4 separate regions of the Homo sapiens genome follow, and regions 2, 3 and 4 are each linked to region 1. The links are contacts of gene promoters, found by promoter capture Hi-C in blood cells and fetal thymus (Javierre and others, 2016). All regions are on one chromosome and are shown on one strand. Each heading gives the region's core, a stretch centred on a gene start or on the middle of the fragment in contact. The rest is flanking DNA. Distances are from core to core; before and after follow the strand shown.

Region 1 (3,731 bases), core at 889-3,388:
GCCTGGCCGCTCTCCACCAGCGACACCAGCACAGTGGCCGTGGCCGTCAGCGCTGGCTCCCCGTGGTCTTTCACCAGCACCAGTAGGCGCTGGCGCGGTGCGTCCGTTTCGTCCAGGGCACGCGTTGTGCTGATCTCGCCCGTGTACAGCCCCACGCGGAACGGGATGCTCGCGCTGGCCGTTTCTGGCTGCAGCTCGTATGAAAGCCACGCGTTGTAGCCCGAGTCGGCGTCCACTGCGCGCACCTTCCCCACCACTACGCCGGCGCCCACCGACCGCAGCACCATCTCGCTCACTGCGCCGTCAGTGCCCCTCATCCGAGGTGTCAGCAGCGCCGGCGCATTGTCGTTCTCGTCCAGCACGAACACCTGCAGCGTCACGTTGCTGCCCAGAGGCGGCACGCCCGCGTCGCGCGCGCTCACCTGGAACTGTAGCAGCTCCAGCTCCTCGTGGTCCAACGGCTGCAGCGCGTACACCTTGCCGCTCTCCGCGTGCACTGACACGTAGCTCGACAGCGAGCGCTCGCCCAACCGCCGCTCCACCAGCGAGTAGGACACCAGGGCGTTCTCCTGCGCGTCAGCGTCCCGCGCAGACACCGTGAAGATGTGGCAGCCCGGCGGGTTGTTCTCCTTCACGAACACCGTGTACTCGGACTGCGCGAACGCTGGTGCGTTGTCGTTCACGTCGGCCACCTCCACAGACACCCTGGCCGTGGCCCACAGTGAAGGCGAGCCCCCGTCCCGCGCGGTAACCACCAGCTCGTAGGCGGACACACTCTCGCGGTCCAGAGCTCTGTCCAGCACCAACGAGTAGTAATTCTTGTAGGTGGACACCAGCTTGAAGGGGACGTGGGGCGTCAGGGAGCAGGTAACCTGCCCGTTGGCATCTGCGTCTAGGTCGATCACACTAATCAGGGCAATAACTGTCCCCAGTTGTGCGTCCTCTTTTACAGGAACCGAGAGCGTTTTGATAGTCAACTGTGGAGCATTGTCATTTACATCCACAACTTCCACAAGAAGTGTACAATGACCAGCCAGGGGTGGGAAGCCTTTATCGACAGCCTCGACTGGGATCTTGTGTGCTCTACTTTCTTCAAAATCCATATGTCCTATCACTGTGATTGCCCCACTTAAGGGGTCCATGTGGAACTTGGATTTTATATCTGGAGAAACATCACTGGAGAAGGAGTAAATAATATCCCCATTCAAGCCTTCGTCTAAATCTGAGGCATTGGGGTGAATCACCAGCGTTCCGATAGAAACGTTTTCTGGTAATTTCACCGTATACAGGGTTCTGTCGAACACTGGGGCATTGTCATTGTTGTCCAGTACCGTGATGAGTAATTGAACGGTGCCAGTCAGCTCGGGTTTGCCTCCATCGGTGGCCGTGAGCAATAAATGAAGCTCCGGAGTTTCTTCTCTGTCTAAAAGTTTCCGTAATACAAGTCCAAGAGGTTTTACCTGCTGGTTGCTGGTTGGCACGTCCAGGAAGAAATACTCATTGGGGCTCAGTCTGTAAGTGAGCAGGGCGTTCTCCCCGATATCTGCATCGGACGCGCCCTCTAGTGGAAACCGAGAGTCAAGCGGCCTGGATTCCGCGATGAACAGATTCTTTTGTGTCGCTGGGAACACTGGAGGGTTGTCGTTAATGTCCTTCACCTCCACGTCCACATGGAAAACCTGCAGCGGCCTGTCTACGATCACCTCCAGGTGGATGCTGCACTCCGCGCTCCGCCCGCACAGCTCCTCGCGGTCGATCCGAGAATTCACAAACAAAATGCCATTCTGCAGATTTACCTCCAGAAGGTCCCCGCGGCCTTTGGAATCCAACTGGAACAGGCGCGGCACCAGCTCCGCCAGCTCCAGCCCCAGGTCCTGCGCGATGCGGCCCACGAAGGTGCCGTGTTCGGCTTCCTCCGGGACGGAGTAGTGGAGCTGGCCGCTCCCCACCACCCACATTGCGAGGATCAGAAGCGAGAGCAGTAGAGGCTGACCCTCTGGATCTCCTCGACTTGAGTATAACATTTCAAATACTCAGTCTTCTTCTAATTAGTGAAAATTGCCTCCAAATTAGAAGAAATCATCTGATTTCGTCAGTCCCATTCTGCTGTGTTCGCCATCGTTCAGCACAGAGAGAGTGAAAAAGAATTGAGCCTCTTTCCCATGGGAAAAGGGCTGTATTTGTCTGGATTCAGAGAGAACATCGCGGCAAAGAGTGACATCACGTGGCCCAAAGTGTAAGTACATATTTCATGAATAAAAATTTCACAGTTATTCTGCAAAACTTATTTCATTTTCTTAATTTTTTCTTAAGTAATGATTGTTGAAACAGAAGATCCCGTTTCTCTTGCTGGAGCCTTCTTAGCAGACTGACTGCCTCTAAAAGTTTTGTATGACCTTGATTGTGGTTTTCTTATCCCTGAGAAAACTCTCCACTTAAGTTTTAAATAACGACAGAAATGAAGTAACAATTAAAATGATTCCATTGAGCAATCACGAATTTTAAATTACAAAATTCTTTTGTTCTGGAATTCAGAATCTCCCATATGGCTCGAAATAGGATTCTAGTGTAAGAGAAATCCAGGAGTTGCAATCTCTAGTGAATATAGGAGCCCAGAAATCTACTGATGAAAAAGAAACTTAGTCATGTCTGGTAAAAGGAATCAACAAAAAGTAGCAACCAACTGAGGTAGTTTTCTTGAGTAATTCTATGAATTGAAAAGGTATAAAATATTGCAAGAAAAGCGAGAATTGACTTTAAGGTCTTGTGTTGCGTGGGGAGAAAATATATTTTTCTCTTTTGTAGCATTTATACAATCTGTTTCCAGAAATGTGTTGTTTTGATTCTTTCCAAGCTTTATAATCTATGAATAATCTCTTCTTTGTAGTCTCCAATATAGTTTGTGTAATGTTATTACAATATGTTTTAATTTCATTATTGCTCATCCTTAGTACTCGGGGCAATTTCTGTTTTTAAAGCTATGCTTGAGATTCTTTTCCTGACTAAGTTCTACAAAGTTTTGTTGTGAGTTTTACTATCTTATTCCAACGTCCAAGTCGATTAATTAAATCTAGATTTTAGTGTATCTCAAGTCTAAAGGCAAAACCGTGAGTGTTTATTGTGCCATTAATGTTTTTGCATATTTATCTTTTATTTCGTATTTCTACTGATAACAGCCTAAGAGGTGCATTTAACAATTGCTTCTGTCCTTGATTACTGCAGGAGCTTCTGAGTTTGTCTTCCCGTTCAACCTTCTTTCAAAAGTCGTGATTTATTTTGCTCAAGGTAGTTAAATAGCTCCCAATTAATTCTAAAGAGTGGCCAAATTCCTTAATCACTCATGGCCCTTTAGTTTATTACTCAGAAATCAAGAGATCTTCTTACATTGGTTTTCCTGCTTTCATTCTCTGCAGACTGTGTGTTTTAACCAAAGTGGACTTTTCTACTTGTCATATTGATGCTTTCTGTGTCTTCAACTTTCCTTATGTTTTCTCTTTCCAAGAAATGTCTATCATTCTCAATATTCTCCCGGGGGGAACTTACTTATTTTAAAACCACTGAAACACACCATGCCCCTTCAAGTATTTCTTCAAAAATTCAAATAGGAAATGATTGTCTTTCAACTTCAACGTCATTCTGATTTACCTCTTGTACCTGTTACATTATCTTGCCTTGCATTGTGTGACTCATATTCTTTATTTGACCTCAAATTTTAAAGCCAGGGGCTGGGG
Region 2 (3,731 bases), core at 763-3,262, 440 kb before region 1:
GTATCTATTTATAAGCACTGAGAAATTTCCTACTGTAGAAGGCATGGATCTACCCCATTTAGATTTACTGTCTATACCATTGAAAGATTTGCACTTTAGCTTTCCTACTGTGCCATGCCAGAAATTCCACACAGCATTGTTATCCATCATGGGCATTACTAGCAACACTGGAGTGGCTGGTTTGTGTCAGATGGCTAGTATCATAGCCTGGACCTCTTACTCCAGAGTCTTCTCAAACCTGATAGCATTTTGAGTTCCAGATGTGGTATATGTTACCTCTAAAATCCAAAGAGACTGTGCCTCTTTCTTAATGGTAAGAAATGCAAGTGATAATGACTTATATTTTATCTCAGAGGGCATTTCTTTGCATGCCCAAGAACCCTAGAATCATTACTGATATGACAGTCACCTGAATATTCATAGGGTTAATATTTTACTCTTTGACATGCTAGACCATCTAGGGTCCTTGTTACTTACTACTCACTACTCACTGGGTCCAATTAGAATCATGTCATCTATGCAGTGATCTAGCATTATGTTCTATAGAATGTTCAATGTTGAAATATTTGTGGAGTACATTATGAAAGAAAGCAAGAGAGTTAACATAGCTTTGTAATAAGATAGTTGAATGTGTTCTGTTTTCTTATCATGAGAAGATGACTGCTTTTGATTTTATTCCCTGGTGGAATTTAAGACAAGTGCGTTCACCAGAAAAATAGCCACCTACCAAGTTGCCAAAGTTATACTGATCTACTCCAATAAAGATACCACATCTGGCATGACAGCTGCAATTGGAGCTACCATTTGGTTAAGTAAGTATATTGCAGTCCATTGTCATCACAACAATCTATCTAGTTTTTGCAGAGGGTGAACAAATGAATTAAATGAGAATTTGATGAGGACTATCACCTCTGTGCACTTTAAGCCTCAGGAGGTAGTGTTAATCTCTAAAAATCCTCCTAGGATGCAGCATTACTTATGATTTACTATCTTGGCTAGGGAAAGGGACATTTCAGGGTTTCCACTATAATGTGTCTTACTCTCTTATTTGTCAGAGAATAAATACAAAGGTTTGGCGTCAGAGGGTCCCAAGACCCCAGGTTTGGTAATTTTCTAAGACTCACAAAACTCAGCATGTAGTCATACTCGTGGCTATGATTTGTTACAGTAAAGGGATACAAGGCAAACTCAGCTAGGGGAAAAGGTATATCAGATAAAGTCTGGAGGAAACTAGGTATAAACTTCCAAGAATCCTCTCCCATTGGAGTCACACAGAATATGATTAAATCCTCCAGCATCAAATTGCACCAACAGGTGTAAAGTGTTATCTACCAGGCAAGCTTGCCTAAACCTAGGAATCCAGGGTTTTTATTGGGGACTGGTCATGTGGGCCTCTTCTGCCTAGTAGGTAGCAAAATCCCAGATTCCCCGAAGGAAAGCAGGTGTTCAGCATAAGCCACGTTGTTTGTATATACAGTTTAGGCACAGCAAACCACTTTTATCAGTTATGAAATGATGCAGACAATCTCAGAATCCAAGTCCCAAATGCAAGCCAAGGGCCTACCTTGTAAGCAGGGCCTTCGACGGCTTAGTAGTCTCAGGTCTGTTATATTAACTCTTTTCTTCTACCCACTTGGTCATTGTCCAAGGCATTTTTTACAAAAAGATTATTATCAATAGGATCCCACATGGCAGGGTGAGATCAGCCTACATTATTGGCCTCAGTTATGTCCTCCATGGCTTCTAGATTTGGCCAATTAAAACAAATCCTGGGAACAGGCACAGTGGTTCACGCCTGTAATCCCAGCACTTTGGGAGGCCAAGGTGAGTGGATCACCTGAGGTCAGGAGTTCAAGACTAGCCTGACCAACATGGTGAAACCCCGTCTCTACTAAATACAAAAAATTAGCCGGGTGTGGTGGCACATGCCTGTAATCCCGGCTACTCGGGAGGCTGAGGCAGGAGAATTGCTTGAACCCAGGAGGCAGAGGTTGCAGTGAGCCAAGATTGTGCCATTGCACTCCAGCCTGGGCAACAAGAGTGAAACTCTGTCTCAAAAAACAAAACAAAACAAAAAATCCCATTAACCATAAAGGTCTATCTTAGAAAGCCAGGTGTCTTTCTCCTTTAGTTTTTATATTAACCTTTTTTTTTCTTTTAATCTGGCCCAAGGCATCAACTCAGGCACAGCACATCTCTGACCAGTAAGTTAAAGTTAATCCGAATGCCTTGTAGGGCTGAGACAGTGTCATGATAGTCAGGGTACCCACAAAAGAAATATAAGCCCAGAGGGCACACACAGTACCCCTGGAAACAATGAGTTTACAGTTGTTAGGACACCCCAAGCAGGACATACAGTAGTCAGGCAATAAGGTTAAGAAGACCTCTAATGTAACCTTCCACTGTGGGCCCTCCTGCTCCAGGATTCTCAGTGCAGTCCAAATAACACAGGTCAGTCCTTAGATTCATAACGACTGCCTGAGGCAGTCAGTTCCAAACAGTTTTGTTCATGCATAATATCACTTCATCCATCTCATAAGTGTGGGTGACATCTGGAAGTGTTCCTCTGCCGTCTCATAGTCACCTGTGACCATGGGCTCAGCAATCTGTTTGAATTCAGAGTGCTCGCAGCAGCTTGGAAAGCCAGCATGGGGACTTCTCCTTCAAGAAGGGGGTAAAGCTTCCAGGAGCAGTTCTGAAAAACAAAAATCATTAACACCCTAACCTCTCCCTGTGCCTCCCAGGGGCTGGGTGTGGTTTCTCCATTGTTACAAAATCAGTGTGTCCCATTCACAATTATAACTTTATATTTTCAATCATCTCCTACTCACTAGGGCCTTTCATCCAGAAGGGTTATAAGCAAGAGGGAAAAAAGCATTTTCACAGAAAAACATTTTTACACAACTTAAGCAGAAAGACACATCATGGTAAGGAATTGGTCACAATGACCTGAATTTTCTAAGATTTTTCAAATTAAGTTTACACAGACTCTTATCCCTTTAGTCACAATCATTTATCCAGTGGCCAGCCTACCATCCCAGAGAAGAGCAGTTCCTTTTTGGGGACAGCTGCATTTAACAATCAAATTGTCTTAATATTCCAGTAAAAAGGTGAAGGAAGTAGATTCAGGCTGTAAGTCAATTGTTGCAAGTTGCAACCAATCCAGAAATCTAAACACAAATCTACAGCAGTGGGACTTTCTCCAGAGGAGGTCCAGAGTCTGATCTGTCAGGAATGGGGAGAGGGGTTACAGTCACTGTGATGTGCCCAGTCCTAAAGTGCAATTAGGAATGCAACCAGTCTCTGTATATCTCTCTGTATCAGAAATATAGAGCCAATCAGCACCTCAATTTTAGATGGCTCCATCAGAGAATAACCCCTTTCCCATGGGCATCTGACCACCATAGATGGTCCAGCCAGTATTTATGACGTTTTCATTAAGGCCCCACAAAGAGGTATCTTAAATCTGCAACAGTTGCAGAATCTATGTTCTGTTTATTGAGACTATGCCTGCTTTCAGTTTAGCACAGCTCATTCTGAGACTGAAATGGTCCATCAGAAGATAGTCAGATTTTAGCTTAGAGTCAGGTCCAGGCAATTAAGATATGTGAATTCAGGATTCCAAAAAGTCAGTAAGAAGGGATGGTGAGAACACTCTCAAAGTCCCAGTTCCCAGATGCCAGCCAAAAGCCAACCTTACAAGAAGAGCTTTCTAAGGATCACAGTATTAG
Region 3 (3,731 bases), core at 571-3,070, 360 kb before region 1:
GTAAACCCATCATTTAGTTCCAGTTTTTCATAATTTACAAAAAAATTCATAAGTACACAAGCATGAGCAAGTTAGTTTAATTTAAAGCAGACTCTTATTCCTAAAGCTGACTTGCCTTAGGTTCCCAAAATTTATTGTAGCCACAACTGTAGCTATCTGTTTTCTCTTTCAGCCCAGGAAGAGAAAGTAAGAGTCTATCCCTAAACATAGAACAAAAACCTAACTTTCACTCTAATTAGACCAAGTAAGATCATGTGTCTGCCACTGAAGCAATCATTGTTTCAAGAGGTATAGAATTATAGTTGGAGATTTTAGTCCTAGAATCTAAAGACCTGTCTCTGGCCATTACTGTGTTTTAATCCTGTCTGGGACCACCTCTTAAGCTTGGGAAGGTTTCAGTCCTAGCCAAAGTACCTCATTGGTACAAAATGAGGGAGACTGTTTGCAACAGATGCTAAGGGCTCATCAGTGATATTCACTATAGAAAGTCTTAAAGTGCACTAAGAATGGATGGGAGAAGAATCCAACAAGTCTGCATTTTAAAATGTTAAATTCAATTAATATTCTTAAAAATGTAAGCTGGATACATGGTTGAAATAGTAATTGGTACAGAAGGGTAAAACTTGAAAAGTAGATGAATTGAGCACACACAATTAACCTCTCTTTTTAAAAAAAAATATGCACTAAAATGGCAGAAAAGTAATTAAAATGGTAGGAACTAACAAAGATTAAGAATACACAAGTGAACACATACATTTTTCTATGACAGAAAGCAGGTGGAAGAGCAATTAACTTAGCAGTTCCAAAAAGTGCCCCTAAAGTAAAGTTCCTGCATTGAAGATACTCACAAGAAACATAATCTCTTTTAAGCGCAAGATCTGGAGGAACCAGATGTTTAAGAAGACTGAAGTCAGTTAAGGATGGAAAAAAGTTATTAGTTGGAAGTATGTGTAGAGGATAATTGAATTCTCTGTTCTTCTCATCACCCTACATAGATGGAAACATAACTCACAGCCAGAAAATAGAAAGTTTATTCTCTGGAGAAATTTAATGGGACTTTCTCTAGTCTTGGGGATCTAGGCACAGCTGAGCACAAGTGTGAGGTGTCAAACTGAAAATAGGGAGAGTAAGCAAACCTTTGCATTTTGCATGGTGAGACTTCTAATCCCTTTTCATGCAATACTCTTAGACTGTAGGACACAAAGTGTATGCCTGACCCCTAGTCTATCCCCATAGTGTATATTGTAGAATTCTAACCTGGAGAATATGAAAGCCCAAATGAAGACACATATTAATATTTGGCATCTCATAAGGTAATAGACTTATCCTAGCATGGTTATATTAGAATGAAGCCCTGCCATCAACAGGTACTGTTCGCTCACAGAGTTGATTGTCAGCATTTTGATATATCATCCTTCTAAAATACGAGAAGATAGCCAAGGCATTTGAGGAAATGCCTGCAACATAACATAGAAAGACCAAAACTACCACCATCGCTACCATCAAGAAAAAAAAAAGGAACAATAATATAGAAAGCAGAAGAAAGCCTTTGAAAATGTCTGGTTAATATTCCCAGAGAAAGAAAATCTAATAAAAGCTAATACTTATTTAGTATTTACTCTATGCTACTCATTGTTCTAAGTGCCTCATAATGCATTTATCCATTTAATCTAAATAGTAGCTGTATGAAGTATGTATTTATCCACTTAATCTAAATAGTAACTATATGAAGTACATATTCCTATTGTAAGATGAAGACTAGATTAGGACTTCAGTGCTTTTTACTAGCTATATTACCTTGGACAAGTTCTTAACTCCCCTTAGACTCACTTTCACTTTTAAAATGGATATATAATAATGATACTGCCTAATGCATTTTTAAAGAAAAGATTAATTATAAATGAGAGAAAATATTACATTTATAAATCTATGACAGGATGCCATGAAAAACATTCAGAGAACCAAAAACAACTCTTAAAAGTAAATATTTTTCAGTCATAAAGAAAAACTTATACATAAAACATTGAGTGATTAAATAAATTGTCCAAAAAATGGAATGAGAGGCAAAGAGAAAATAAGAAAGGAAAAATGGCTTATAGTCTTATAGAGTCAATCTAGGAGGTCTAATATTTAACTGAGATTTTCATTGAAGTGAGAATCCAGAAAACTCAGAGGAGAAATTATGAGTAAAACATACCAAGGAAATTCCTTTTAACAAATTGTTTTTGTGTAGAGATAGGTTCCCACTATGTTGCCCAGGGTGGTCTCAAACTCGGGGCCTCAAATAATCCTGCCTCAGCTTCCCAAAGTACTGGGATTGCAGGTGTGAGTCACCATGCCCAACCAAAATTTCTCAGAAATAAAATTGATAGTCTGAACATTAGCCAAGGGGTCTAGCACATGCCTGTAGTCCCAGCAACTTGGAAGGCTGAGGCAGAAGTAGCTCTCGAGTTAGAGCTTGCAGGGTGCTGTGATTGTGCCTGTGAATAGCCACTGCACTCCAGCCTGGGTAACACAGTGAGACATCATCTTAAAAAAAAAAGAAAAGTTAAACATGAACAGGGCATAGCGATATAACCAGATTAATCAATAAAGAGCCAGTACTAAGGTATTTTCAGAAGACCAGGGGAATTTTTTTCAATGCTCACAGAAAGAAAGAAAAAAAGGGGGGGAATCACATAAAAAGACATAGGAATCAGAATGGAATCAGTCTTCTGAACAGCAATTCTATATGCAGTCAATAAAAGGAGCAGTGCTTTTGAAATCTGAGGGAAAATTATTTTCAACCTAGAATGTTATGCCCAAACTATCAATCAAATAAAAAAAAAGAAAATAACAAAGCAAGCTCTCAAAAAGTTTTATTTCCTCTGTATCCATTTTTATGAAGGTACTGAGAGATGTGCATCAACAAAATAAGTGAGTAAACTAAGAAAGAAGAATGTACTGGATCTTATAAAAAAGGACCAACAAAGAAAAATATTTTTTAAAGTCCTAGGGTGACAGCCTATAGAGCAACCAGTATGAATGAAGTAGAGATCTGGGTGCAAGATCACCAAGAAATAAACATAATTGACAGGTATCTGATATATTTGAATATTTTGAGAAGAAAGAGATTCAAATTAGAGAATGTAAAGAAACTAATATTAGTAAATGGAAAATTATGTAAGTACAAAACAATTTTCAGTTCTAGGAAAAATGTTTCTCAAGAAAGGAAATTTAATCACACTACACTAATGTGTATTTTGAAGAAAGCTTAGCAATATGGACACTATTAGTTTAACTTAAAAAAAACTGTAGGCTGGGCACTGTGGCTCACGCCTGTAATCTCAACACTTTGGGAGGCTGAGGCAGGAGGATCAGCTGGGGTCAGGAGTTCAAGACAAGCCTGGCCAACATGGTGAAACCCCATCTCTACTAAAGCTACAAAACTAGCCAGGTGTGGTGGTGGGTGCCTGTAATCCCAGCTATTCAGGAGGCTGAGGCAGGAGAATCACTTGAACCTGGGAAGCAGAGGTTACAGTGAGCTGAGATCACACCACTGTACTCCAACCTGGGCGACAGAGTAAGACTCTGTCAAAAAGAAAAAAAAAACTGTAACAATTTTATTGGGAGAATAGGAGAAAGGGAATGTGCAGTGCTTATATTGGTTTACATTAGTTGAAAAGAAAGTTAAATCTTTTTTAAAAAATACATAGCAAGAAGTGATTAAAATGTAAAATGGAGTAGCAAGA
Region 4 (3,731 bases), core at 436-2,935, 300 kb before region 1:
TGCGGGTCCTGGGGCGGCAGCAGCGAGTAGGTGACCTGGGCGTTGATGCCTGAGTCTCTGTCTGTGGCGCTGACGCTGCCGATGTGCAGGGCGGGGCTGTTGTTCTCGCGGACGAACAGGGTGTAGGAGGTTTGGGTGAAGGCGGGGGCGTTGTCATTGACGTCGGAGACCTGCACAGTTATGCTCTGCTGGGTTTTCAGCCTTGGTGTCCCCAAATCAGTGACCGTGATAGTGATGTTGTACTCGGCTCTGCTCTCTCTGTCCAGCGCGCCTTCTGTTACCAGGGTGTAGAAATTCTCCACGGAAGGTCTTAGTAGAAAGGGGAGATTGTTCTCTATTGAACAAATAACCTGTTGGTTATGTCCAGAGTCTGCATCTGAAACACTGAAAACTGCCACTGTGATCTCTGGTAAGTTTTCTGGGATGAGGCTGATGAAGAACGACATGGTGAGTTCAGGGGCATTGTCATTCACGTCCAGGACCCTGACGACTAAAGAGCATTTTCCTGATAGGCCTCCACCATCTGTAGCCTCAACATCCACGTCATAAGACTGAATTTCCTCAAAATCCAAAGCCTTTCTCAGCCGAATTTCTCCTGTGATTGCGTTTATTTCGAAGGGTTGGTTGACGTCATCGACTTGAAACAGGGCGTAAGATACCTTCCCAAACGATCCTGCATCTAAATCTCTGGCTGAGACGGTAATAACCAGAGAGCCGAGGGGGTTGTTCTCAGGGACTTGTGCTTCATAGAGCTCCTGAGCAAACTCGGGGACGTTGTCATTGATGTCCAAAACCTGGATCTGAATCTCGGAGGTCCCTGACCGGGGCGGAGACCCGCCATCCAGCGCGATCAGCGTTAGCCTGAGTTGGGGCTGCTCCTCGCGGTCCAACGGTTTGTCTAGCACCAGCTCCGGGAACTTCCTGCCTTCGCTGCGATTGCGGGTGAGAACGTGGAAGTGAGGGTTGGAGCTGATTGTGTACCTCTGAAGGCCGTTGCTGCCGGTGTCTAAATCGTGTGCCATTTTCAAAGGAAATATCTTTCCTGGCATAGTAATTTCTGATATTTTCAGGAGCATTTCTCTGGCAGGGAATTCCGGGGCGTGGTCATTTATATCTCTGACTCGCAAGGAAGCCTGAAAAAACTGCAAGGGGTTTTCCAGTAACACTTGGAAAGGTAGCACACACGGCTCAGTGGAGCCACACAGCTCCTCCCGGTCCAGTTTTTCATTTAGCAGTAAATCATGGGTCTGTGGATCAAACTGCAAATGTTGTCTGTTCCCTTTGAAAACAACCCGAGCGCCCCGCGAAGCCAGCTCCCCCACCCTCAGTCCCAGGTCCTTTGTCAAGTTGGCCACAAACGTGCCACTTTCTGTCTCCTCCAATACGGAATACTGAATCGATTCAGAACCCACCTCTCCCCAAAGCATCAATAAAATGAAGAAAGCCACTTGCCTTTTCTTGTTCTGTACTTTAGTTTGCATCATGTCTATTATGTCTGAATACGGAAGAAAAATCCTTTTCAGCTCCCAATCACCACATCTACCGTCGACCCTCTCGGATGTCTTTGCAGAGATTTTTAAATTCGTTCTTACAACTTGTCTGGCGACGACTGCCTTCCCGGACACATCTATCTCAGCTTTAGCTGTAAACGTGGTCTGTATTTTTACTTGGCTTCTGGATGAAACGGAGTCCACCGAGTCTGCAGAGCTTTCATTCACTCTCTTAGCTTGTACCGCCACCACGCGTTCAAACTAATAACTTCATGAGATGTTTTCAGGTCAATAGCATTTCAGAAATCTGAGCATTATAAAGACTTTTAAGTCGAGTCAGTGTTTCTCAAACTGAGTGCGTGGACCGCATGCATAAATAATTGCTTGCGAGCGTTGGTTTTTTTGTGTGTATGTTTTTGTTTTTAAGCCAATTCCTGGGTTCACTCCCCTCTAGAACTTGAATCAAATTCCCTGGTGGTGCTAATTAAGGAGAAAGATTGAAGTGCAGATTCTACACTTCAGTCTTTCTCCTTTGATGCTTCAGCAGTGCAATTTATCTCTGATGAACTATTTAATCTATTAGTCCAAGAGGTACACTATTTAATTGTCCCAACAAACAATGCAAAACAACGAAGTTTGTTAGCAACAATAATGGTAAAATAAACAATAAATTATCTAAATTATATGACTCATAAATGGCATGAAAAAAAAAACCTACTTTGTTATATAGTTATGCCTGCACAGTAAAAAGAACAATTAGGCTATTAGGAGGAAAACTGAGGCCAAGAAGTACGTATGATACATGTATCTAAGTAAATTAAAGTATTTAAAAGAGGGACTAGAAGCAATCAAGTAGTTGTCATAAGCATTTTAGGATTCTACTCCATTTTTGCATGGATAGAATTAGACATTGTTTTAACAGTCTTGTGCATTTTATTTTTTGATCAAATTCCCCTCTTACATTATTTAATCAAGGTCCAAATATATTACCGTGTTGTACAAACATGATGCAACACAGAAAACAAACATTCAAGAATCACCTTCACCGTCTTCTCACAGCAAAAAGAACACCAAGTCCAATAAATACAGGCCAAATTAAGGTACTGTTAAAACAGGTGAGTTACATTTGAGTGAATGCCATGGAATTCAATGATGGAATATTATGGCTATATCCATTCCCATCTCACTAGTTTCTACTCAGATACATTGGAACATGTATCTCTAAACAAACTGAAAATGTGTGAAATAGATTAGTGCACATAGAAGAGGTAAAATATGCCAAACAATTCAATTCATTTCAGATTAATTTCATATTTATTGAGAGGTGAAATCAATTGAGTTCAAACAAAGTTCACTTCAGGTAAGGGCCAAGGTGATAGAAGATTAAAAATCAAGATATTTTCAAATACATAAATGCTAGGCAAAACAAATAAGGCTAAATAAAATCTAAACTCTGAATAGCTGAGATGATCTTGTAGTTCAAAATCACCTCTATGTAGCCAGAAAAACAAAAGATTATGAATGTGACCAGCCTCCAGGGTTCACTTGATAGATGCTACTGGGAACACACTGTTCCTTGAGAATGTAACAAAATGAAATTATGAAATAAACCAACAATAATAAACATATTGGACTGGTGTCATCTCTTTGCTGAAACAAGGCCATTATTTCCTGCTCAATCTTAAATGCTTCCTTCTTTCGGTGAGCATTCTGAGTTCTGATTCCAGCTTAACGGCATCCACAAAGTCTTTTATTCACTCTGTTTCTCTGAAGCACCACCAGGCATCCTCGAATATAGGTTGTTGAATTATTTTTTTACGTCAGAGCAAATTTATCAGCAGTACAGTATTTGTCAAACTCCATTTAGATCCTTGAAATGTCTTTGATAACATTGGTAGTTATATAGAAAGAGGATAATAGCTCAAAGTACCCCAAAAAGATATCAGTTGGGTCTATCAAGAAACTGCCTTTTTATAGAAAATGGATTACGTTAGATTGTTTCAGGAGAATGTTTCTCTGTGTTGCCCTCTTTTGCTTTGATTTGATTGACTAGAGTAGAGTTGAATTAAGTTTGCATTCGTAAACATGTTCTCACAAGGACTCATTAACTTAAAATTTTTATTATGGAAAAATTCTAACATATACAAAGTAAACAGAATAAGCCTCTGTACACAATCAGTTTCACAACATTCTGTTGTCTTGTTTTGTCTATACCTTTCTCTCCATTCTCTGCTTCCCGCT

Evidence for each region. The method cuts DNA at HindIII sites, captures the fragments that hold promoters and counts their contacts. A CHiCAGO score of 5 or more calls a contact.
Region 2: a contact is called between a fragment that was not itself captured here and the fragment with the promoter of PCDHA9 in region 1, in 4 of 17 cell types (M0 macrophages, M2 macrophages, M1 macrophages and 1 more). The highest score is 7.4, in M0 macrophages.
Region 3: a contact is called between a fragment that was not itself captured here and the fragment with the promoter of PCDHA9 in region 1, in 4 of 17 cell types (monocytes, M1 macrophages, M0 macrophages and 1 more). The highest score is 6.9, in monocytes.
Region 4: the fragment with the promoter of PCDHB6 here is called in contact with the fragment with the promoter of PCDHA9 in region 1 in 6 of 17 cell types (neutrophils, monocytes, erythroblasts and 3 more); the score reaches 8.8 in neutrophils.

Annotation. Positions count from the first base shown.
Region 1 is chr5:140,846,789-140,850,519 of GRCh38, reverse strand. It overlaps PCDHA9 (protocadherin alpha 9), which reads right to left and starts at 2,138. Exons shown (of 4, transcript NM_031857.2): 1 at 1-2,138. The coding sequence starts at 2,024. The region is part of intron 1 of PCDHA1 (protocadherin alpha 1); the gene reads right to left. All of the region lies in intron 1 of PCDHA2 (protocadherin alpha 2), which reads right to left. All of the region lies in intron 1 of PCDHA3 (protocadherin alpha 3), which reads right to left. It also overlaps PCDHA4, PCDHA5, PCDHA6, PCDHA7, PCDHA8 and PCDHA@. The HindIII fragment of the contact is 21,410 bases long and covers 1-2,856 here.
Region 2 is chr5:141,287,437-141,291,167 of GRCh38, reverse strand. No RefSeq gene overlaps it. Among named protein-coding and RNA genes, the nearest start is that of SLC25A2, 15 kb to the left of the region's middle. The HindIII fragment of the contact is 1,340 bases long and covers 1,343-2,682 here.
Region 3 is chr5:141,204,357-141,208,087 of GRCh38, reverse strand. It overlaps PCDHB@. Among named protein-coding and RNA genes, the nearest start is that of PCDHB12, 2.5 kb to the left of the region's middle. The HindIII fragment of the contact is 2,869 bases long and covers 386-3,254 here.
Region 4 is chr5:141,148,011-141,151,741 of GRCh38, reverse strand. PCDHB6 (protocadherin beta 6) reads right to left here and starts at 1,685. Exons shown (of 1, transcript NM_018939.4): 1 at 1-1,685. The coding sequence starts at 1,484. It also overlaps PCDHB@. The HindIII fragment of the contact is 6,099 bases long and covers 1-3,731 here.